Regions from separate parts of the Homo sapiens genome. Here regions 2 and 3 are each linked to region 1. Evidence: promoter capture Hi-C in 16 types of primary human blood cells and fetal thymus (Javierre and others, 2016). All regions are on one chromosome and are shown on one strand. The core of a region is centred on a gene start or on the middle of the fragment in contact, and the rest is flanking DNA. Distances in the headings are between cores, read along the strand shown.

Region 1 (3,614 bases), core at 381-2,880:
CTCAGCCTCCCAAAGTGCTGGGATTACAGGCATGAGCCACCACACCCGGTCATGCCCAGCTAATTTTTAAATTTTTTGTAGAGATGAGATCTCACTATGTTGCCCAGGCTGGTCTCAAACTCCTGTGAGCCCCTCAGTTAATAGAAGAAACAGTCAAGCATGGTGGCATAGGTCTGTATTCCCAGCTACCCGAGAGGCTGAGAAGGGAGGCTCTCTTGAGCTCAAGAGTTTAAGGCTATATGCCAGGCATGGTGGCTCACACCTGTAATCCCAGCACTTTGGGAGGTTGAGGTGGGTGGATCACTTGAGACCAGGAGTTCGAGACCAGCCTGGCCAACATAGTGAAACCCCGTCTCTACTAAAAAAAATACAAAAATTGGCTGGGCACAGTGGCTCACACCTGTAATCCCAGCACTTTGGGAGACTGAGGCGGGCGGATCACAAGGTCAGGAGTTTGAGACCAGCCTGGCCAACATGGTGAAATCCCATCTCTACTAAAAATACAAAAATTAGCCAGGTGTGGTTGGCAGGTGCCTGTAATCCCAGCTACTCAGGAGGCTGAGGAAGAAGAATTACTTGAACCCAAGAGGCAGAGGTTTCGGTGAGCCAAGGTCGCGCCATTGCACTTCAGCCTGGGTGACAGAGCAAGACGCCATCTCAAAGTAAATAAATACATACATACATACATACATACAAAAAGTAGCCGGGTGTGGTGGTGCATGCCTGTAGTCCCAGCTACTCAGGAGGCTGAGGCAGGAGAATTGCTTAAACATGGAGGACAGAGGTTGCAGTGAGCTGAGATTATGCCACTGCACTCCAGTCTGGGCAACAGAGTAAGACTCTGTCTCAAAAAAAAAAAAAAAAGGAGTTTGAGGCTGCAGTAAACTAAGATGGCACCACTGCACTTCACACCTCACTCTAGCCTGGGTGACAGAGCGAGACCTTGTCTCTAAAAAAAAAAACAAAAAACGAAAAACCAAAAAAAAAAAGGGTGGGGGTGGAATAGAATAAACAACTCTGAGAAGGGACATGATCTGGTGACAATCTCAAGTGAATCAGTGGTTGAACCAGGACCAGATCCCAGTGCCCCATCTTCTGGGGACGTCCTGGGTCTGAATCTTCAATGCATGTCCCTTCTGCAGTGCCTTCCTCTGTGGCCCTCAAAGGGAAACTGAAGCCTTTGAGGACATGAAGACTCGCATTAGGCCAACGAGGGGTCTTGGAACTCCAGATCAAAGAGAATAAGAAAGACCTGACTCTGTGTGTGTGTACGTGTGTGTGTACGTGTGTGTGTGTGTGTGTGGCAGAGGGGGGTGTGGTCATGGGGTATTGACATGAATACGCAAGGGGCAGGAAGCATCTGAAATCAGAGCTAACTTGGGAGGCACAGAACACGGGGTGCCTGGAAGGGGAACAGATGTGTTGTGGGGCACAGGGCAGGCTGGGAGGGGAACAAAGGTCCACTCCATGGGTAACCAGACCCTTCCGCCAGGGCTGGCCACTTCTGCCTTTGGAAAATGTTTCACAACGCCCCATGTTGTGTGTGTGTGTGAATCGGCCGATGTGAACCGAATGTTGATGTAAGAGGCAGGGCACTCGGCTGCGGATGGGTAACAGGGCGTGGGCTGGCACACTTACTTGCACCAGTGCCCAGAGAGGGGGTGCAGGCTGAGGAGCTGCCCAGAGCACCGCTCACACTCCCAGAGTACCTGAAGTCGGCATTTCAATGACAGGTGAGTAGTGGCCCCTAGGGACAGAGCCTGATTGGGGGGTGGAGTGGAGGAGATCACTAGGCTGGTGGAGACTTGAGGAAGCAAGAAAGCCCTTGGTCCCCTGTGGAAGCCTCTGGTCCCCCGTGGGAGTCCTAGTCTAGAACACAGTTCTGGACACCAGACTCAATCTCACTGGGTGGAGTCCTTCACACCCCTAAGCGGTCTACCTTTCCTTTGTCTGAAGTCCGTGGATCAAAGCCCCTGGAGCTTTCTGGGCTGCCGGAGAAGGTGAGGGGTCCAGCCAAGGGGCAGACATGTGGCCTCAGCTTGCCCTTCTTAGAGCCTAGGGTCTCTCTGCATTCTCTGTGGCAGGAGATCTGCCTCTGGGCATCTGTCCTCACATGAGAGGACAGTAATTCTGAAGCTGCCATGTCCCACACATCTGGAATGTTTGTTTGAGAGGTGGAGGTGATGGACCCAAGATGGGGGCCAGGGACCTTAGTTTCTCCACTTTTCCGGGAGGAGGAGGGAAAGGATCAGGCGGCTTTAACTCTGGGCCACCAGAAAGAGGCAGGACACTCACCATGCTTCATGGGCCCCCACAGGTGACAAGGGTCCCCAAAGGCTAAGCGGGTCCAGCTATGGTTCCATCTCCAGCCCGACCAGCCCGACCAGCCCAGGGCCACAGCAAGCACCTCCCAGAGAGACCTACCTGAGTGAGAAGATCCCCATCCCAGACACAAAACCGGTGGGATGCTGGAAACTTCCTGGGGGCTTGCAAGATTGACAGGATCCTGAAGGATCCCATGGGCTGGAGAATGGGGTCTCCTTATGATCATGGGTGGCAAGTCCCTTCCAGGTCTGAGCAGCAGTGGTGGACAGTGGCAACTGCCCCTTCCTGCTTCCGTCCCCAGTGCTTAGCTGGGGTGCTTCAGTATTTGTCTAAAAGCGATTAAATGACTTTCTCAATGAATCTCAGCTTTCCTATGAAGGAAAAGAGGCCCAGGGGGAATTGGGATTGGAGCCTTGAGGACATGTTATAGCATTTAGGAAAGGGCATAGGGAGAAGTGAAGGAGGCTGCAGGCTGGCATCTAGCATCTAGGATGCTGTCACCTGCATTTCCAGTATCTTCTCTTTTTTTGGAGATGGAGTCTCGCTCTGTAGCCCAGGCTGGAGTGCAGTGGCGCGATCTCAGCTCACTGCAACCTCCGCTTCCCAAGTTTAAGCGATTCTCCTGCCCCGGCCTCCCGAGTAGCTGGGATTACAGGCATGCACCACCATGCCAGGCTAATTTTTGTATTTTTACTAGAGACAGGGTTTCACCATGTTGGCCAGGCTGGTCTCAAACTCCTTAGCTCAAGTGATCCACCCACCTCGGCCTTCCAAAGTGCTGGGATTACAGACACGAGCCAACGCTCCCAGCCTCCAATATCTTCAGCAGATTTCTAAGTCAATATGCCATGCTCTGGAACAGGGTGGGGGGACCATAGCCTCAGCGGACCACAGAGAGGAGGCCCCGTGGTCTGAAAAGGAGCTGGCAAGGGAGGAGCTGGGCTAGGGAAGCTTGGCCCCCTCACCCCCTTAGACAGCCCCCTGTGAGGTCTCTGAGGACCTGACAAGTCAGGGCTTGAGGGGCAGGCAGTTCAGGTGCAAGCCGGCTGCTGAGCTTAACAGATCCAGAAAAAGATCCTCTGTGACTCATCAGAGCATGCTGCTTCCTCCACCCATGCCCTCCCCATCCCTTGGGTGGCAGACCCAGGAATGGGCCATGGAGGGCAGGGCTGGGCTGATGAGCCTGTTGGGGCTCCTCTAGGGGATGGCCAAGGCCAGCTGCCACCATCCCTATACCCAGGACCCCCTCACTCTACTCCTCCCACCCCCCAACAGGGCACCTTCAGCCT
Region 2 (3,614 bases), core at 473-2,972, 120 kb before region 1:
AATCTGTCCCCCTTCACACACATCCCACACACAGTGTTTAGACAGAGCAGCAGAGAAGAAACAGACATCCTGGATCCCACAGGGAGCAGGCTGGGGCTGGGAACAGGAGGTCTGTTTATTCCTGGAAGTCACATATCAGAAGGGTCCCACACCCACTTCTGTCCAGGCCCCAGGCTGAACTCTCCCAGAGCCTGTGACTTCTGCCCGACCAGATCCCGTGGTTCTGAGGACCGGCCCTGGAACCCTGCGTCCTTCCGACCCACCAGCTCCCTCGAGGATGGACTTGAGGCTGGATGCTTTCCTCTTCCCACTTTTTGTCCCAACAGAAGTCCCTGATCTCCAGGATCCCTGACTGGCTGTGCAGAGCTGGCACAGCCACACTCCACGGGCTTCCAGCCCTTCAGGCCCAGCTCTCCCGGAGAGCACCAGAGTCCCTTTGCTCCATTTACTTGCGCTCTTCAGCCAGCAAGTGTTTCCTAATGTCTCACCCCCAGTCCCAGCTTTCCTGCTGCAATTTCCGCCTGTTCCCTCCCATTTCAGGCCTTAAGGGAGTGTGGCTGGGCTTCTCTCCTCCCCCTCACTCCAAAGCCGCACTTGATACAAGGTGGAAATCAAAGCACCACTTCTGGCTTCCCAGCCTTGAACTTGCCCTTCCCTCTCAATGTATCTGGTTTCCTCAGCTTCCCTGTGCAGCAAGAGTGTCACTCCCCTCTTGCTTTTCCCAAGCTCCCCATGCGCCCCTCTCAGCAGATCTGTCTTAGAGGGGCCAGGTGCAGAGAAAGGCAGAAATCCTAATAATGTTCCCAGCGATCGCTGCCTGTCGCGGAGTGCTGAAGGGCCAAGTGTTGATCTGAGTCCTCATCACACGGGACTTCATTTAGTCTCACGATAGGTGAGTACAACTATGGGCCCCATTTGACAGATGAGGAAACTAAGGCAAGGGAACTTTAGTCATTTGCCCAAGTTCACTGGCTTTTTTAAAAAAGGATCCAGACAGCTCTGATTCCAGCGCCAGCTCATGCCTCTTCATCATGGGGGAGGAAAGAGAGGGAGCCATTTGTTGGGGCAAACCCCCACCCATCAAGGGCCATGCACTGGGGTATATGCCGCCATATGTGTTATCCTGTGATATTCCCCACCACGACCTTAATTAGAGGTGGTTTTTCTTGTTCCCATTTTAACACAGGCAAAAACCGAGGCCCAGTAGTACCTTACCCATGGTCACATCCCCAGAGCCATTTGTCCCTCATAGTTCAGAACTTGACTCAGAAAGCAGTTGAGAAAAGTGTGGAATGACCCCAGATTCAGGAAGGCAAGTCTGGCCTTAGAAACTGAAAGGCCCATCAGGTGATGGGATGGGGGAGTGAAGATCCTCAGGCCCCAAACACCTGCCACTGCCACCATCACACACGGAAGTGTGGAGGGAGCCTGGTGTGCTGTCAGCTGGCTGGCCAGTCCAGGGGCTTAAATGTAAATGCATCAGCTGAGGCGGGAAGTCGGGAGGGGTAAGTCAATCATTATTATTCATTAACTGGAATGCATTTCTCAGATTACTCCGAGCTGGAGTAGGGAAACTGCCACCTAGGTGGCAGGGGGAGAGGGGAACTGGGTGGGAGGGGGAGGCAGGCCTCCCAGTTGCTGCAGTTTGGAATATGTCAGGTCCCACCCTCCCAGAGGCGGGGCCAGGGCTGAGTCCTGCCAGCCTCATTTCTCTATCCCTCTGAGAACCCAGACGGGCAGAGCCTGGGTAGGAGAGCCTGGCCCCGCTGTCCCCACTGGGTGGAGACACCATGCACTTGGTCCACTTGTGCTCTTCAGCCAGGACACCAGACATGGTCCAAACCGCTGCAGGGCTGGCTGCAGCAACTCCCTGACACTCAGGAAGGCCCAGGCTGGGCAGGCAATACCTGCTCCCAACAGCCATGTGAGTAGCTACTCCCCCAAACCCCCAAACCCCAGATCCTGGAGAGGCTACTACACCCAGCCCAAGCCACCAGACCCTCGGGGGTGTGCAGGTGGTACAGCCTGCACCCTGCTGGGAAATCACCCCTGGGGGCTGCTCCCTGCCTTTGTCGCTGTTCTAGTGGAGGTGGGTTGGGGGGAATCATTCCGATTAGGGCTGGGAGCTCCAGCTCAGGCCAGGTTTGGGGTAATGGACCCTGAGTCTCACGGGACTTAAGAGAGTTGATGATGCCCTGGGAAAGGGAACAGAAACTGCAAGGCCTCTAGAGAGGAAAAGACATCCTGGGTGGAGGGCACTGGAAGAGATTGAGAAAGAGAAAACATGCTTAGGGGAGGGGAAAGGGGGCATAAGGCCTTGGAGGCCCAGGCTCAGGGTGCTGGGGGAACCTGGGAAGGAAGGGGAGCATCTTCCTTCCTCTCAGCTCAGGGCAGCCATGGGGCCCTGATCCCCTGTCCTGGAGGAGGGGAGAGGTATGAATCCTTTCCTTATTGACTTGGATCCTAGCAACAGCAGCTGCTCCCCTGTTGACAGAAGCAGGAGTTCCCACAGGACCCAGGACCCCTCCCCCTGTCCCCAGGATGTGGCAGCAGAGCCATGACACTGGAGGACTGAGACCAGGGAATGACGGGAAGGACAGGGACAGATGAGAGCCACAGAGAAGCCAGACTCTGCCCAGACTCCTCTTCCCTCTCCTCTGGGCTCAGCCTCAGGCCTGGGGGTGTGGGGGAGTCCCTCTCCTTGCTGCTGGCATCTCCACGTTCACTGCCACACGTGCCCTCCAGCTGCTTCTCTCCTCCCTCCAGCTCCCAGGAAGGACCCTGTTGCTAGTGTGGAGCAAAGACGAGTCAAGTTTATGGGCTGGAAGTCCTACCCGGAGGCTGCTCACTGAGCTGTGATGGCTACAAGGACAGATGGGGGGAAGGGTGCAGGGTGCCCGAGACCTGGCCCGCTGGAGCCTGTCACCTAATGGCTGGCTGGAAGACCACTACACACCAGCCAGCCCTGGTCCATTCTCTCATTTAGAGGCCTCCCCGGTGGAGGCAGGGATACACAAAATGCTTTGGGGCTGGATGGGCCCGCCTTTCAGTCTAAACAAGAGACCTCAACACAGCTGCCCAGAAAAGGCAGATACCAGAAATGGATAAAGCTGGCTGGGTGGGGACTGTCCGAAGGGCAGCCAGCAGTGAGCTCCGGCTGGTTGCTACCACACAGGACATATGTGTTGCCAGACCTGAATTTTCAATAGAAACCAAAGATAGTTTTTTATATAAATGTTTAATTGGCAATTAATTGAAAAATTCTGTGTATCAGCGAACATGATACAGCCCACAGCCTGCGGGTCTGCGCCCCTGGATTAACATGCTGCCCTGCCAGGAGGACACGACCTGCAGCCCCATCCTAACTCTGGCCACCCCATCCTGCAGGCATGCCGGCTGCCGCTCCAGGACTCCCCTGTCCCCAGGACCAAGATGACGCCCAACAGCACTGGCGAGGTGCCCAGCCCCATTCCCAAGGGGGCTTTGGGGCTCTCCCTGGCCCTGGCAAGCCTCATCATCACCGCGAACCTGCTCCTAGCCCTGGGCATCGCCTGGGACCGCCGCCTGCGCAGCCCACCTGCTGGCTGCTTCTTCCTGAGCCTACTGCTGGCTGG
Region 3 (3,614 bases), core at 348-2,847, 95 kb after region 1:
CCTGGCCAACATGGCGAAAACCCGTCTTTACTAAAAATACAAAAATTAGGCTGGGCGTGGTGGCTCATGCCTGTAATCCCAGCACTTTGGGAGGTCGAGGCCAGCAGATCACTTGAGGCCAGGAGTTCGAGATCAGCCTGGCCAACATGGATAAACTCCATCTCTACTAAAAATACAAAAAAATTAGCCAGGCATGGTGGCACGCACCTGTAGTCCCAGCTACTAGGGAGACAGAGAATCGCCTGAACCTGGGAGGTGGAGGATGCAGCAAGCTAAGATCACACCACTGCACTCCAGCCTGGGTGACAGGGCAAGAGTCTGTCTCAAAAATAAATAAATAAATAAATTAAATAAAAAACCAAAACCCAAAAATTAGGGAGATGTTGTGGTGTACGTCTGTAATCCCAGCTACTCAGGAGGCTGAGGCAGGAGAATCACTTGAACCTGGGGGATAGAGACTGCAGTGAGCCAAGATCGTGCCACTGCACTCCAGCCTGGGCAACAGAGTGAGACTCCGTCTCAAAAAAAAAAAAAGATTATGTAAATATTCAAAAGTTGTTTTCTGGGAGAATTTTGGACTTTCACACATTTCTCATTCAAGTTGAACAACCACAAACTACCTCTGGCTTTAAAGTAAGATAGGAAACAGAACAAAAATAACTACTAAAATAATTCTATTATTTAAAAGGGAGGCTTAAAATAAAATACAGTAGCATAAGATAATGCAAACACCTAGAAAAGCTTAGATCTTCAAAGTATTAACTATCCATATAATTATCTATATATTAATCCAATTAATAAATCCATAATTTAAACAATTAGATTACTTGGTTGCTCTGTTGATGTAAAATGTTTACTACAGTTCCCTCACATAAACAATTGCTACAGGCTGGGAGTAGTGGCTCATGCCTGTAATCCCAGCACTTAGGGAAGCTGAGGTGGTAGGATCACCTGAGCCCAGGAATTTTAGACCTGCCTAGGTCACACAGTAAGACCTTGTCTCTACAAAAAATTTTAAAAACTAGCCAGGCATGGTGGTACATGCCTGTAGTCCCAGCTACTTGGGGAGCTGAGGTAGGAGGATTGTTTGAGCCCAGGAGAACGATGCTGTGGTGAGCCGTGATTACACCACTGTACTCCAGCCTGGGCAACAGAGCGATACCCTGTCTTAAAAAACTGCTACCAAAATAAAGCAAGTAATTATTTGAGGACGAATATGCAAAAGTAGCTTTGAAGGGCAAAAAAAGAAAGTAATTTGTTTAGAACAACGAATTTCTCGTAAGTCTTGATCCATCTGTAAACAGACTGATTTCTGTAGCCAGAGAAGGCATTTTCTTTAAAACTAATTAGTTTGATGATGGTTATGAAAGACATTTGTTTGGACAGTAAGAGATAAACAAATCTTTGTCAGATGTTTTAAGAAAATATTACTTACTTTTTCCAGGTCTTCCTGCTGCTGTTCGTTGCCTAACATTTCACAAAGTCTCTGGCTGAGGGCCACAGAACGTTTTAGCTCATCCTCACTGTCTGAATCAAGGCATAAAGCCAAGGAGCTCTTGGATTTGAAGGTGAATTTCCTGTAATTTAAGGAAAAAAAAAAAAGCCTGATAAACATTTGTCTTTGTTATTCTTTTATTGTAAAAATATCAAAACAAATTGCTTTTCCATTACGGAAAATTACTTAACAGAAAAAAAAGATATATCAAAAGAGGTATATTTCAGCATTACCTTTGCCCCACTCCAAAAGAGCCATGCTTTGAAAACTGGACAACTCTTATGCTACTACGTATCATCAGTAAACTAATCATGTTGTGCCTTTTTTCTTTTAATGATCAACCCCAATGAAATTTGCTATTGTCTTTATAAATTATGCTATTGAATTCATGCAGGCATAGCAATGAATAAATGTTTTTGACAACAAAGTGCATGAAGACTAATTTGTGATCTTTTAAATTATGATCCATGCACTTTAAAAATAACAGTAACATTCCACTTATCCACTTATCTGTAGGTCAGACTTCTGGCAACCTCTACTTTCCAGAACATAGGGATTCCAAAGTAAGAAAAAAGGCTTCTGAGGAAGGCAGTTCCAAAGCCCATGTACTTAGAGGGACCCTTTCTTTCCCAGGAAATGGTGAATAAAATAGTGTATCAAGTTCATCAAGAAATGAGAGCTAAGAAATGAGAAAGAATAACCACAAGAAAGGCAAACAAGAACTATAAAGTCATTTAATGTAAAAGCAAACTATCTTGTAATAATTAAGAGCCTCTGAGGGCAATATCATATTGAAACACAGTGCAATAATTGATACTTAAAATGCTGATTCTAAGTCATTAAGATATACTTAAATTATCCTTAGTTATTTTAAGAATGTAAGGAACAGTGTAACATATTTTAGAAACATTTTCATCCAAACTGTTAAAAATCTTTTAAAAGATAAATCGTTAAAAGGTAAGCTTCAGTTATATAAAAATTCACTTATGTGGAATCCTTTAATGATGCCAGATAAGTAAGGTGTTACTGTGTTGTCTTCTAGGTAAGCCGAAAATAAACTAAAGAAAAAAGTGGTAAAGGTCAAAGAACAAGAACTTTCTTTGATGGAGGTTAACACAAATTCATATGCAATACAAAAAATATATATAAAATGAAAACTAGAAAATACAATTAACCTGAATGTAAAAACTGAAAATAAACATATAGACTAATGGCACCAAGAAATAAGAGGCCAGAGTGGAAATCAGGAAGATTACATAGCAATGTAGATCAAAGAAAAGAGGCAAGTGGTCAGTGATAAGCCCAAACATAGTGTGTGGCTCAGAGCAGCCAGGATATCACTGCACTCCAACCTGAACACTTGAAAAGCCTCCCATGTGCTCAAAAGGGTTTTTAGTATAATAGCCAATTAGCCATCTTAATTCCTCAATTCAGATTTCACGCTCACCAAGCAAACCTGAACATATTAATTTGTTTACCCAGATAAATATTTTGCTGAAGGAGGATGACACCTGGCTACCATTGCACCAGGGTAAATTTGTGACAAAGGACATTGTAGAAGAATCAATGGTATTCTGGTTCATAACTCAGCCTCTTTTAAGTTTGATCGGCATGACAGGTCTTCTAGGGCCTAATCATTCTTTATTGATCAACTCCCAAATTTTCATACCAGCAGACCCTGGAGAACAGATGACCATGCCAAGGTACAATGATGCCCAATGAAATCATTTCTTTCTTGAAACTACAGTGACTTGGTACATAGAGTGCATTCCATTAATGATTACTATATTTACAGAAGGCAGCTTGCCTGTAGCAATGAAAAATATTCATCCTGTAAATGCATCACTTGCTCACTTTCTAAGCAGCCAAGTGGTATTGCTCATTTGTATCTTGAGAACGGGCAAGAGTATTCATATCGGTACCATTTCAGATTTCTAGTCATGTTAGTCATCTGGTTTTAATTGCACTGAAAAATAATTAACAGGAGGAAAAGAAAATAGCAGTTCCCAAATGTCATTTTATGGTTATATAAGCCCCCCAAAAGCCCTTAAACAACAAAAATGTCTCTTCTCTAAAAGTACTTTGGGCCATCAAATTTTTAGAAAAATTAATTAAAAAG

Evidence for each region. The method cuts DNA at HindIII sites, captures the fragments that hold promoters and counts their contacts. A CHiCAGO score of 5 or more calls a contact.
Region 2: the fragment with the promoter of GPBAR1 here is called in contact with the fragment with the promoter of SLC11A1 in region 1 in 1 of 17 cell types (monocytes); the score reaches 5.2 in monocytes.
Region 3: a fragment that was not itself captured here is called in contact with the fragment with the promoter of SLC11A1 in region 1 in 1 of 17 cell types (naive CD8 T cells); the score reaches 5.9 in naive CD8 T cells.

The regions. Positions count from the first base shown.
Region 1 is chr2:218,380,643-218,384,256 of GRCh38, forward strand. SLC11A1 (solute carrier family 11 member 1) reads left to right here and starts at 1,631. Exons shown (of 15, transcript NM_000578.4): 1 at 1,631-1,733; 2 at 2,318-2,460; 3 at 3,601-3,614. The coding sequence starts at 1,727. The HindIII fragment of the contact is 6,449 bases long and covers 1-3,274 here.
Region 2 is chr2:218,259,293-218,262,906 of GRCh38, forward strand. GPBAR1 (G protein-coupled bile acid receptor 1) reads left to right here and starts at 1,723. Exons shown (of 2, transcript NM_170699.3): 1 at 1,723-1,924; 2 at 3,388-3,614. The coding sequence starts at 3,433. RefSeq lists an enhancer at 2,170-2,975. The HindIII fragment of the contact is 11,967 bases long and covers 1-3,614 here.
Region 3 is chr2:218,475,405-218,479,018 of GRCh38, forward strand. USP37 (ubiquitin specific peptidase 37) reads right to left here. Exons shown (of 26, transcript NM_020935.3): 19 at 1,436-1,577. Among named protein-coding and RNA genes, the nearest start is that of VIL1, 58 kb to the left of the region's middle. The HindIII fragment of the contact is 1,716 bases long and covers 740-2,455 here.